3 separate regions of the Homo sapiens genome follow, and regions 2 and 3 are each linked to region 1. Evidence: promoter capture Hi-C in 16 types of primary human blood cells and fetal thymus (Javierre and others, 2016). All regions are on one chromosome and are shown on one strand. Each heading gives the region's core, a stretch centred on a gene start or on the middle of the fragment in contact. The rest is flanking DNA. Distances are from core to core; before and after follow the strand shown.

Evidence for each region. The method cuts DNA at HindIII sites, captures the fragments that hold promoters and counts their contacts. A CHiCAGO score of 5 or more calls a contact.
Region 2: a fragment that was not itself captured here is called in contact with the fragment with the promoter of ATP2B1 in region 1 in 1 of 17 cell types (fetal thymus); the score reaches 5.6 in fetal thymus.
Region 3: a contact is called between a fragment that was not itself captured here and the fragment with the promoter of ATP2B1 in region 1, in 1 of 17 cell types (activated CD4 T cells). The highest score is 7.4, in activated CD4 T cells.

What each region holds. Positions count from the first base shown.
Region 1 is chr12:89,707,085-89,710,407 of GRCh38, forward strand. It overlaps ATP2B1 (ATPase plasma membrane Ca2+ transporting 1), which reads right to left and starts at 1,754. Exons shown (of 21, transcript NM_001366521.1): 1 at 1,512-1,754. It overlaps ATP2B1-AS1 (ATP2B1 antisense RNA 1), which reads left to right and starts at 1,871. Exons shown (of 1, transcript NR_028138.1): 1 at 1,871-3,323. RefSeq lists enhancers at 633-722, 733-832 and silencers at 1,023-1,252, 1,403-2,422, 2,443-2,992. The HindIII fragment of the contact is 7,681 bases long and covers 1-3,323 here.
Region 2 is chr12:89,012,610-89,015,932 of GRCh38, forward strand. It overlaps LINC02458 (long intergenic non-protein coding RNA 2458), which reads right to left. Exons shown (of 3, transcript NR_038385.1): 2 at 2,083-2,259; 3 at 1-708. Among named protein-coding and RNA genes, the nearest start is that of LINC02458, 5.4 kb to the right of the region's middle. The HindIII fragment of the contact is 759 bases long and covers 1,334-2,092 here.
Region 3 is chr12:89,035,329-89,038,651 of GRCh38, forward strand. No RefSeq gene overlaps it. Among named protein-coding and RNA genes, the nearest start is that of LINC02458, 17 kb to the left of the region's middle. The HindIII fragment of the contact is 7,011 bases long and covers 1-3,323 here.

The DNA of each region.
Region 1 (3,323 bases), core at 504-3,003:
GAGGAGGAGGACCCAAATGAAACGCACAAGTACAAAAAGCAGATTCTCCTCCAATCCCTCTTAATTCCCCCAATCCACCCCTGCCACACACAAGGACAGGGAGTCTCGGGAAGGCTGGCATCGGGGCAAGTGGTGAAGGCCCTCCATTCACTCACGTGGGCCACCATCCAAAGGGTTACACACCCTCTGCCAGATGAGAGCCTCATACAAACCAGGCCCTTACAAGTACTTCTTATTATAAAATACACCCACGCTGAACAAAAGCCTTATTTTAAAATAAGACTGTCCTCAGGTGGGGGAGGTTAAACACAACAAAGGCTTCCATGTTGACAGGCAGACAAGTTCAGATATATGCATATACCTACACACGTATGAAAAAAATCTATGTAGCTAATTTATCACGAACAGCAATCGATACCAACAGAAGCCATTAGATTATTAATAAACCAAGAAAAGTAGCGGGCACAGAAGCGAAAGGTGGCTGTCTGCAGCGCTCTAACCCAAAGAAAAGGTAAATATCAGCCTGTCGAGGAGGGTCGAGCCCTCCAAGTACCTGCAGACCCCTTTAACCCACCCGGACGCCCTGCCCTCCCCTCCGAGCCAAGCAGCGCACAGGGTGCGAGCACTCCCAGCGCTGCGAGTCCCGCAGAAAACTGGTGAATGAAATGCGCACAGAGACCAACCTGGCTGGTGACCGCGGCGCAGAACCAGGGGTCGCTAACCAGCTTAGCCACAGGATTCTCCCGCAGGATGGGATAAAGAGAGCACAGCCCCCACCCCACACCCCTGCCACTGGAACGCGGTCCTCCTACAGACTCCTTCCTCAAAAAGGGAGGTGGGGGCGCAGGCTTTTTTCTCTTAAACTAAGTGAATAAACACGAATCGGAAACAACTGTGAACATCCTGGGGGGCCAGACGGAAGGCGTGAGGAGAAAGACCAGGCGGCTCTCCAACTCCCGAGGAATCACCGTCCTGACACGCCAACAATCAACCACCAGGGCCAGGGGCCGACCAGGGGCCCCCGCTCCCCTCCCGCAGTGCGTCTGGGGGGCCGAGGCCAAGGATTAGAGGGGTGACCCTCCCGGGGCGCGGGGAGAGGGAGTGCCGGGCACGGTGCCCTCAAGGTCACCACGCGCCGTGGCGGGGGCGACCGGTGGCGGGATGGGCTGTGGCGCGGCCGAGGCGGCTTCGTGAAGCCGAAGACCTGCGGGTGTAGACCAGAAGCCCCAACAAGCCCCATCCCTCGGGCCCGGAGCAGCGACTCCCAGACTGACCCGGCGCTGAGGTGCACGGCGAGAAGCCCGCTCACCTTCACAATCTCCCGGCAAGAGGCAACCTGCGAGGGGCCCCGACCGCCCCCGTCAGCTTCTCCCGAATCCGGCGCAACCCGCTGCGCACCCAGCTATCAGGATCCCCGCCGCGACGCCCGACCTCCGTGCTCCGCCTGGCCTCCCCCGCAGGTGACCTGCCCCGCCGCCCCCGGCCGCGGGCGGGCGGCGGCCGCCACTCACCTCGCCCGGCAGTGGGAACCATTTTCCGAGGGGGAAGGAAAGGCAGGCTGCGGGAGGGTCGCGGGGCGTTAAGGGGCAGCGGGAAACGCAGAGGATGGGGGCTCCGTCCTCAGCGCGTCCGCAGCCGGCTCGCAGGGCTCGGGGCGCCACGCGGAGGTGCAGCTGCACCTCGGGGATGGGGCGGCCAAGGAGCCGAGAGGCTCGGCGTCCACCAGCCGGGGCTCCCTACTCACGCTGCACTGCGAGGAGGCGGCGGCGGCAGCGAAGGAGGAGGAGGCGGCGCCCGGCCGTCCCCGCCCAGAGCCCGGCAGCCACCGAGTGGCCGCCCGCGTCCCCGCAGGACCCGCCTCCTCGGCTCCGCAGAGCGGCACACAGGGCGCGCCGCGCTCGCTCGGCACGGGCAGCTCAGCCGGCCTCACGCCGCCGTCCGCAACAGCAGCCGCGGGCGGGGTGCAGCCACCTCCGTGAGCGCCGCAGCCCGCCCCACTCGGGGCGGGGCCCGCGGGCACCGGAGAGCGGACGGCCGAGCACGAGGGGGCTGCGCGCAGCTCCGGGCAGGGACCCCGTCTGCACCGGGTGGCCTGCAAGATTGCCGGGGTAGGCAGGGGGAGGAGAACGCTCACCCGTTCCGGTCTGGCGCTCCCTTTTCTCCACACCCACACGCCTCCCGCTCCACGCTGGCGGCGCAGCTGCTCCCGCTGCCACAGCCGCCACCGCCGCCGAAGCTCGCGCCGCCGCCGCTGCCGCCTTGGCTGAGCGCGGTCACGTGACGCGATCCGCGGGGAGCCTGGGGGCGGGCGAGTGCGCGCGCGCGCGCGCGGAGGAACCGCGGCTCGGACCGGGACTGGGAGCTGAGCGGCACTGGGAGGGCGTTTAAGGGGAGGACCCGGCGAGCGCGCCCTCGGCTGGCGAGCGCGCGCCTGGCGATTAGAACTTGCCGCGCGGTCGGGAAAGGGTGGCCGGAGTGAGGGGCGGAGGTGGGGACTTGCGCCTCCGCACGCCCCTCCCTTTCTTCCTTCCCCTGAGCGCCTTGGCTTGCCGCTGCCCCCGCCCCCTCCAGCGCGCCCCTTCCCTCCTGCCGCAGCCTGCGATTGGCTGAGAGGCTCTGACGTCCGTGTTTCCATGACGTGTTGGTGCAGGAGGGAGCGGCGGGGGAGGAGGGGGTGGCCAGGCGCGCGGGGAGGTGACTCCGTCAGTCACAGCTGCTGTTTCGGCGCGGGGCCGGGCCGCTGCCGCGACGTGTGGAGGCAGGAGAGCGATGATTGCCGCAGGAGAAGTGCGGGCGCCCTTCACCTGGGGCCCCTCCCGAACCGCCCCCGGGCCCATGCCCCTCCAGGGCCCAGGAGCGAGCCAGCGGGAGGGCGAGGGCGAGCGCTCCTGGCGAGGACAGATTAAGGCGAACCCCCAGTCAGCGGACATTTGAGCGGCTCCTCGCCGCGTCTCTGCCCCCACTCCAAACCGGACTCGACGCCTGTCCCGGGCCGTGACGCACGCACCGGAGGAAAAAGTGCTTCTCGGCTCGCTCCCTCTTTGGGGAAGAGAGCTCACTCCCCATGCGGGCGCGGGACACTCCATCTCTGTTCCTGCCGGTCGGGTCCGCAAACACCGGGGATCCCAGCTGCGGCGCCCAAAGGGTTAACGCAGGCGTTCGGCCAGTGCAAACCGGCCTCGCAGGATCCGCGCTTAAAATCCGGGTGTTTTCATTTTGGGTTTGTTTCTTCTACTATGCCAAGCTGGTGGCTCTCTTTTAATTCTCTTGTAACATCTCAACCCTGCACCCATCTTTCCTGAGGGGAAAAGGAAACGGGATAA
Region 2 (3,323 bases), core at 463-2,962, 690 kb before region 1:
ATTTGCAAGGGCCTGGAGTTCATGAAGCTAAATTTTGATAGAAACAACTGAGTTTTCCCATGAGTCCTTGGGTGACCTTTTAGGTCTCAGCTCAAATTTCATTTCCTCAGAGATCTCCATTCCATCTAAAATAGCCCCACTCTGAGTGCAGTTTATCTTTACTACTGCACTCTGTGCTTTACCCAAACTACACCTATCACAGTCTACAATATCCGGTTCATTCATGTTTTCATGTGTTTATTTTTACTTTCTCATCTACTAGAATGTAAATTCTGAGGCCAGTACCTCCTCTGTCTTGTTCAACTTTATAGTCCCTACACATAGAATGGGACCTGGCATAGTTGTTGGTCAATAAATATTCCTCAAATAAATGAGTGAATGAAGACTGGAATCAGGGAATAATTAAACCGAAAAGGGGTCAGAATGGATGCTATAGGAAATAAAAGGTAATGAAATATTCCCTTTTAGGAATTGGATCAACCACTTCAGAATAAGTAACATAGCACAGAAAAAAATTAGATGTAAATGGTCATTCATAGAATGGGCTCTCACTTGAACTTTTTGAAGGAGTTCCCACAATAACTTTACCTTTGACATTTAACAATTGTCCATATTCTGTTTGTGAGGAATGTTTTGTACAGGGAAGAGCCAGACTGGATCCTCAAAATCTGATCTTCATGATGCAAACAAACTTCTGGGGGCATTTTTCTAAAAAATAAAAGAAAGAGTTCATCTTACTTTTATAGATAGAGATTAAACAGTATTGCTTGATTAAACAGTATTAAGATAGAGATTAAACAGTATTGCTTGACTCCCATAAATAAATGCAAATCATACTTACTGAAACTGAAAAAGAGTAAGTTCTAAATTGATTATTTAACTAAGATATTAGGAAGCAGTGAGTATTTCAAAACATGTCCCAAGTTTCTGACGTAGAGGAATTAGCCTCTAGGAGCCTGACATTTTATGAGTGACTGCGTTAACCTAAGTGACAATTGAAGATCATGGAGCTGCACAGAGGGAGAAGAAAAATAATGGCACAACTTGCCCTCAGGAAAGTAATTTATTCCAAGAACAATTCTAGAAGATTATACTTAAAATATGCTGTGGCTATCCCAAACATGAGATGGTAGATAATTACAGGCAGTAAAGATTAACCAAAAGTAAAGTCATACAAGATGGACGTCATTTCTACTTTTATGAGAGTTGCTTGTATCTCTCCTCATATTGTGACTTTAAGCCTCTGAACTTGACCCTGTCTTCTGGGATTATGCCTAAAGATTGGGTCCTTGGCCAAGCAAGGCAGGCTTGAGACAATTACACCAGAAGGTCAAGCTTCTTTCATAGGAATTTAGCAAGGCTTTAACCACTTCTCATGAATAGTTTTAGGCAAAATTAAGGCATGTAGGTTGTTGGATTCATTTCTTTGAATAAATCCACTCAGCAAAATATTAAGTAATATATTAGGTGTCAAAACGTTGGAGAGATCTGTACTACAGAACCTCAGCTTTCTGAACTTGACCCCCTTCTATCCAGTATGTTTAATGAACATATAAATGAAGACACAGACAGCGTGTGTACCAATCTTGCAGACACCAGAAAACTAGAGTACCTTCTCAGGTATTAATCAGCATTCAAAAAACTGGCAGAAGGGTCAAAACTGAACAATTCAATGCTTCAGTTTAAGGGAAACGTTTAACTGCAGGTTAAATAGAACAGATCTGACTAAGCAACAGTTCTTGGGGAAAAAAGACAAAGAGTTTTAGTTACCTGCAAATTCCATATGAACTAGAAGCAACGGGGCTTGTAGAATAAAGTATGCATTCACAACCATCCAGCACTGTAATTTCAAAGCTAAATAAGACCAAGCCTGGCTTAATTAATATTTTTGAGTGAACGAACAAAGGAACAATTTAATAAATGAGATAACTAAAAAGTAATTTTAAGGTTTTACTAGGCAAAACTGGTCAAAGAGTTTTATCAAGTATTTCTTCACAATTGTAGCTGTAAATATTTGATAGGTTGCTTTATAAAGTAGTAAACTCCACAAAGTTGGCCTTATAAAAGTAAATGGTGCCCTACCTTACAAAGAAGCTTTGAATTGCACAAGGGAATTGGGCCGGATGACTTCCAATGCTCTCTCCATCTTAGGATTCTCTTGAAATATTTTTCACCGAGAGATGGTAGAGATGACATCCACAAAAGAAGGGATTTCTTTTTCCAGACCAGAAGGGAATCTGGTGAGCACTCTTCTTCACCCTAGGACAAAAAGAAAGGGAGAGAGAGAGAGAAAAAAAAATATATGGGTTAAGTTACAATGACCTAGATAAAATCCTAGCTCTTCCACCATAGAATTGTAAACTTTGAACCTGTTAGTTATCTCTCTAAGTAAGTCCAGGTCTTCTCATCTATAAATTGGGAATAATATTATTCCTAGACAAGATGGTGTCCTGGCAGAAGAAGATAAAGAATATAGCATCTAGTATTAACTAAATGTGCAACGGCTAGTGTTCGAGGTGAAATCTATGTGTTCAAGCATAGGTCATGGCTGAGTGAGTCCCTGGGGGGCAGTTATTTGTCTCTTGTCCTGCCCTTCTGGAAAAAAATGCATCAAATTGCATTTATTTTGTATGTTGTACATCCTATTATAGATATTTCTTTCTTTCTAAGATTGGCTTAGCTTTTCTCATTTGCCTCCTATAAAGGCCTTGATCTTTAAAACATAAACACACACAAAGAGACAGAGAGAAAGAGACAGGTAGAGAGAGAGAGAGAGATTTTTTGAAACCCTGAAGTTAATTTTATTTTGGAAATAGATGTGCTCACCAAGTCAAGCCAGTCACAGATAAGCATTTCCCTCAATCATTTACAATTAAAATTTCCTCAAAACTAAGATTCAGACTATATTTGCAAGGTTGCAAAGATACGGTTTCTCTTGGGCACACAGATTTTGCAACTCAGCAAGCTTCAGAGGAATACCTGAAAGTTAATCACACCTTGGATATACTTTTGCATTTCCTTTGCATGAGCAGTACATTTTGAAAAACAAGAATCAGCATATTTGCTAGGTAAAATACAAAATGTTTTTAAAATATAGTTTCTGTTAAACATCTCACAAGTCCTTCTGAGATCATTTTCAGAGTGATGAACTCCTCTTAAGACAGAAATATAGTAAGTTGTCTCCAGAAGAGAATAACTAAATTTCATGTACATTGACACAGAGAGCCACAGAGGGGAAGATAAACAATATCGCTATCATGCTAAGCAACTGCATGGATCAACACTCCCTTCAACTCTCCTCTCATTACTGAGAGACTGTTTTT
Region 3 (3,323 bases), core at 383-2,882, 670 kb before region 1:
AGATGTGATTAAGTTTATAGACCTTGATATGGGGAAAGTACCCCAGATTATGTATACAGTCCCAATCTAATCATAAAAATCATTTAAGTTGAAGAGTCTTTCCCAGCTGTGTTCAGACAGAGATTGAATAACTGAAGAAAGGTCAGAGAGATGCAACAGTGCTAGCTTTGAAGATGAAGGAAAGGGACATGAGTCAAGAAATATGGGTACTTTCTAGAAGTTGGAAAAGACAAAGAAACAGCTTTCCCCCTAGACATCATTGAGCAACACAGTCCCACTGATGCTCACTGCTGCCTTGATTTTGGCCCAGTGAGACCTGTGTTGGACTCCTGACCTACTGACACTGTAAGATGATAAATTTCTATTGCTTAATCACTAATTTGTGGTAATGAGTTGTGTACACAGTAGAAAACTAACACATATATTGAACATATATATTTTTTTTACTTATGGTCCGCTCTCCAGTACAAATTCTGCCCAGAGGACTAATACCTTGCAAACTCTGTGTATAAATACCTTTTAAAATTTTACTAACAATTACATGTTTCATTTACATAGTGTTTATCATGTAAGATAGGCAGGCTATGGGTGAATATTCCCATTTAATAGATGAGGAAACTGAGCTTTAGACTGTAAAGTGTCTTGCTCAAAGTTGCAGAATTGATAAGAGAGTGGTTGGGATAGAATGTCGATTCTTGTCTTTTGACTCTTTCAATCTTTTTTCCATAGCACCAACTCTGTCTCTAGCATTATTTCATGTGCTCCTCATATCAACAGCAGAAGAAACAGATACAGATGCCATTGTTTTTATTTTATGGATGCAAAATTGTAGAGGAATTAAGTGATCAGTACTGAAACCAGGACAAGAACTCCTTACATTTAACTTGTAATCTAGGGCTCTTTCTGATTTGCACGGCCACGTATAAACTATGGTGTGTATGCCTAGGTTTAACACATGCAGGATATTTAAAGGAGAGAACGTATAGTTTAAATAAAAACAAACTTGACTTAGTATTGACCTAAGTTAGTTAATGTCCTTGAATCTTAATTTTCTCATTTGTAAAATACAAATAGTATATCAGCTTGACATAATTGTTGAAAGGATTTGTTCAGTTTTCAACAATAATGAGAAAGTTGCATTTAAACACAGCTCCTGGCATATATGAATATGTAAGCACATTGTGTCAGGGTATCATGTCAATTTCATGACAGCTTTATGTTCCTCCTCATAGACAAACAGAATCCACATTTTCAATCTGTCAAAAGTCACTAAATACTGGCTCCAATCAAGCTAATAAATCCAACCAAAGAAAGAGATATGGGGAAAACAAGATGTTCCCTTCATTATCATGGATGAATCTGTAGTGGTCCCTTTCCCTTCTTGAGTCCAAAAGGAAAACTTACATGAATGTGAAGGATTTAGTCTTCTGGGCTTCTGATAATTAGAGACACAAGAAAAAGTGAGTTTTAACTTCAGTGAACCTTTCCAAGAGAAATTGCAATCATGTTCAAGTCTGTTCCATTTGTATGGTCTCTATCAAATCAAAGTTAATGGGAACAGAGAGACCCCAACTTGAACAGGGAGCTCCTAAAATGCTAGGAAAATACATTTTCCACAATCATTTAAAAATACAGTACTACTTGACATAACTCTAGAAGGAACTTCTGTGGCTCAGCACAAACCTGCTCTCTTGAGATAAATACAACATTCTATAAGTAAAAGCCTCTTTTTAAAAAAAGAAAATGACTAATTAGCAATGGGACTGTAGATTGTGTTTTACTATGATGTAAGTTCTGATTATTTGGGGTATTTTTATATTCTCATAATGAAGATTGCTAATACTATCTTATCTAAAGCAATTTTGAAGAAATACATATTTCTTTACCCAAAATAATTCTTCATAGACACTGTCATTTTGGATAATAAAAAGCAGATAAAACATTTTATAAATAACTATTTAAACATTTATTATTTATTACTCTATGATTTTCCTTTGCGATATAAATTAAAGGGAGATTAGGAATCTTTGGAATATTTTAGTTCTTTGAGTATATGGATCATGAAATCCATCTCATGCTTTTTCTTCCCATTAAACATTGAAAACAGGTTATTAAAATAGACACACCGATGATATCTACCAACGACTTCTAAAGTCCTTGTATCCTCATGATATATATTAAATATGTATTCTTATATCCTATTGAGTAATCAGAAAATGTCATCAGTAAACCTGCATAACTGAAATGAATTCAGCATAAAAGTAAGGAGTCTCAGAATTAGATAGAAGTGTCAGCTCTCATGGGCTTCTTCACTTGGGCATCCTAAAAGCTATTTTAATTCAACATTCCCCAAACTGAACTCAACATCCCCTTCTACCCTTCTCCAACCTACTCTTCCTCTAGGTTTTCCATTCTGAATGGCAGCAGCCCCGCCTCCCACCTCTTCACCCTGGTTGTGAGCCTGGTTACTTTTCCCCCTCCCTCCTCACAATCAGCAAATTTCTACATCTTGACAGTCACTCTTTAAATATCCCTTGACTTCGGTCAGAATACCACCACCTAAGTCTATACATCCAACCTCTGTCACGTGGATACCGGAAATTATTTCTTAGCTAATCTCCTGCTCTGCTCTCATTTCTCTCCTCGCCATTGACACCTAGTTTCTTAACTATCACTTATGAGACTCCTGTGCTCAAAATTGTTCTTTTGCATCTCACTCCCTATAGGATGAAGACCATACACCTTAGCATGGAGTAAAATATTAGGTTGGTGTAAAAGTAATTGCAGTTTTTGCCATTACTTTCAAGAAAACTTTCATTGCTTAGATCCTCAAAAAAAAAAAAAAAAAAAAAAAAAAAAAAAAAAACTTACATTTTGCTGGTTGTGCATAAGTGCCCTGAACTTGGCCATTCTGAACTCTTGGAGGTTTGCTTCAAATATGGCATGCCCCTTCACAGCTCTGCACCGGCTCATCTACTGTCCTTACCAACTAAATTAGCTCCCCGCAACTTATCTGCCAATAAACTTCTGCTTGTTCTTTAAAAGGCTCTCTTCAGCTGCCCTTTCCTAATAACCCTGCTTTGCTCCAAGAGGCACTCCTTTCTCTCCCTGTACAGCATCCATTATGCTGACTTTACTTGTTTGTCTCCCTCGTTAAATGATAAGCTCTTTACGGGCTTCTTGTTCATAATTGCTTTCTGATAAATGAATGGTTCTAGGCTAACATTTTCCCCTGTCAAAGGAGGTAATTTAGCTCCAGAGAGGTTGAGCAACTTGCCCAAGGCCACATAGCTGAATAACAGACAAGCCATCCAGGAAGACAC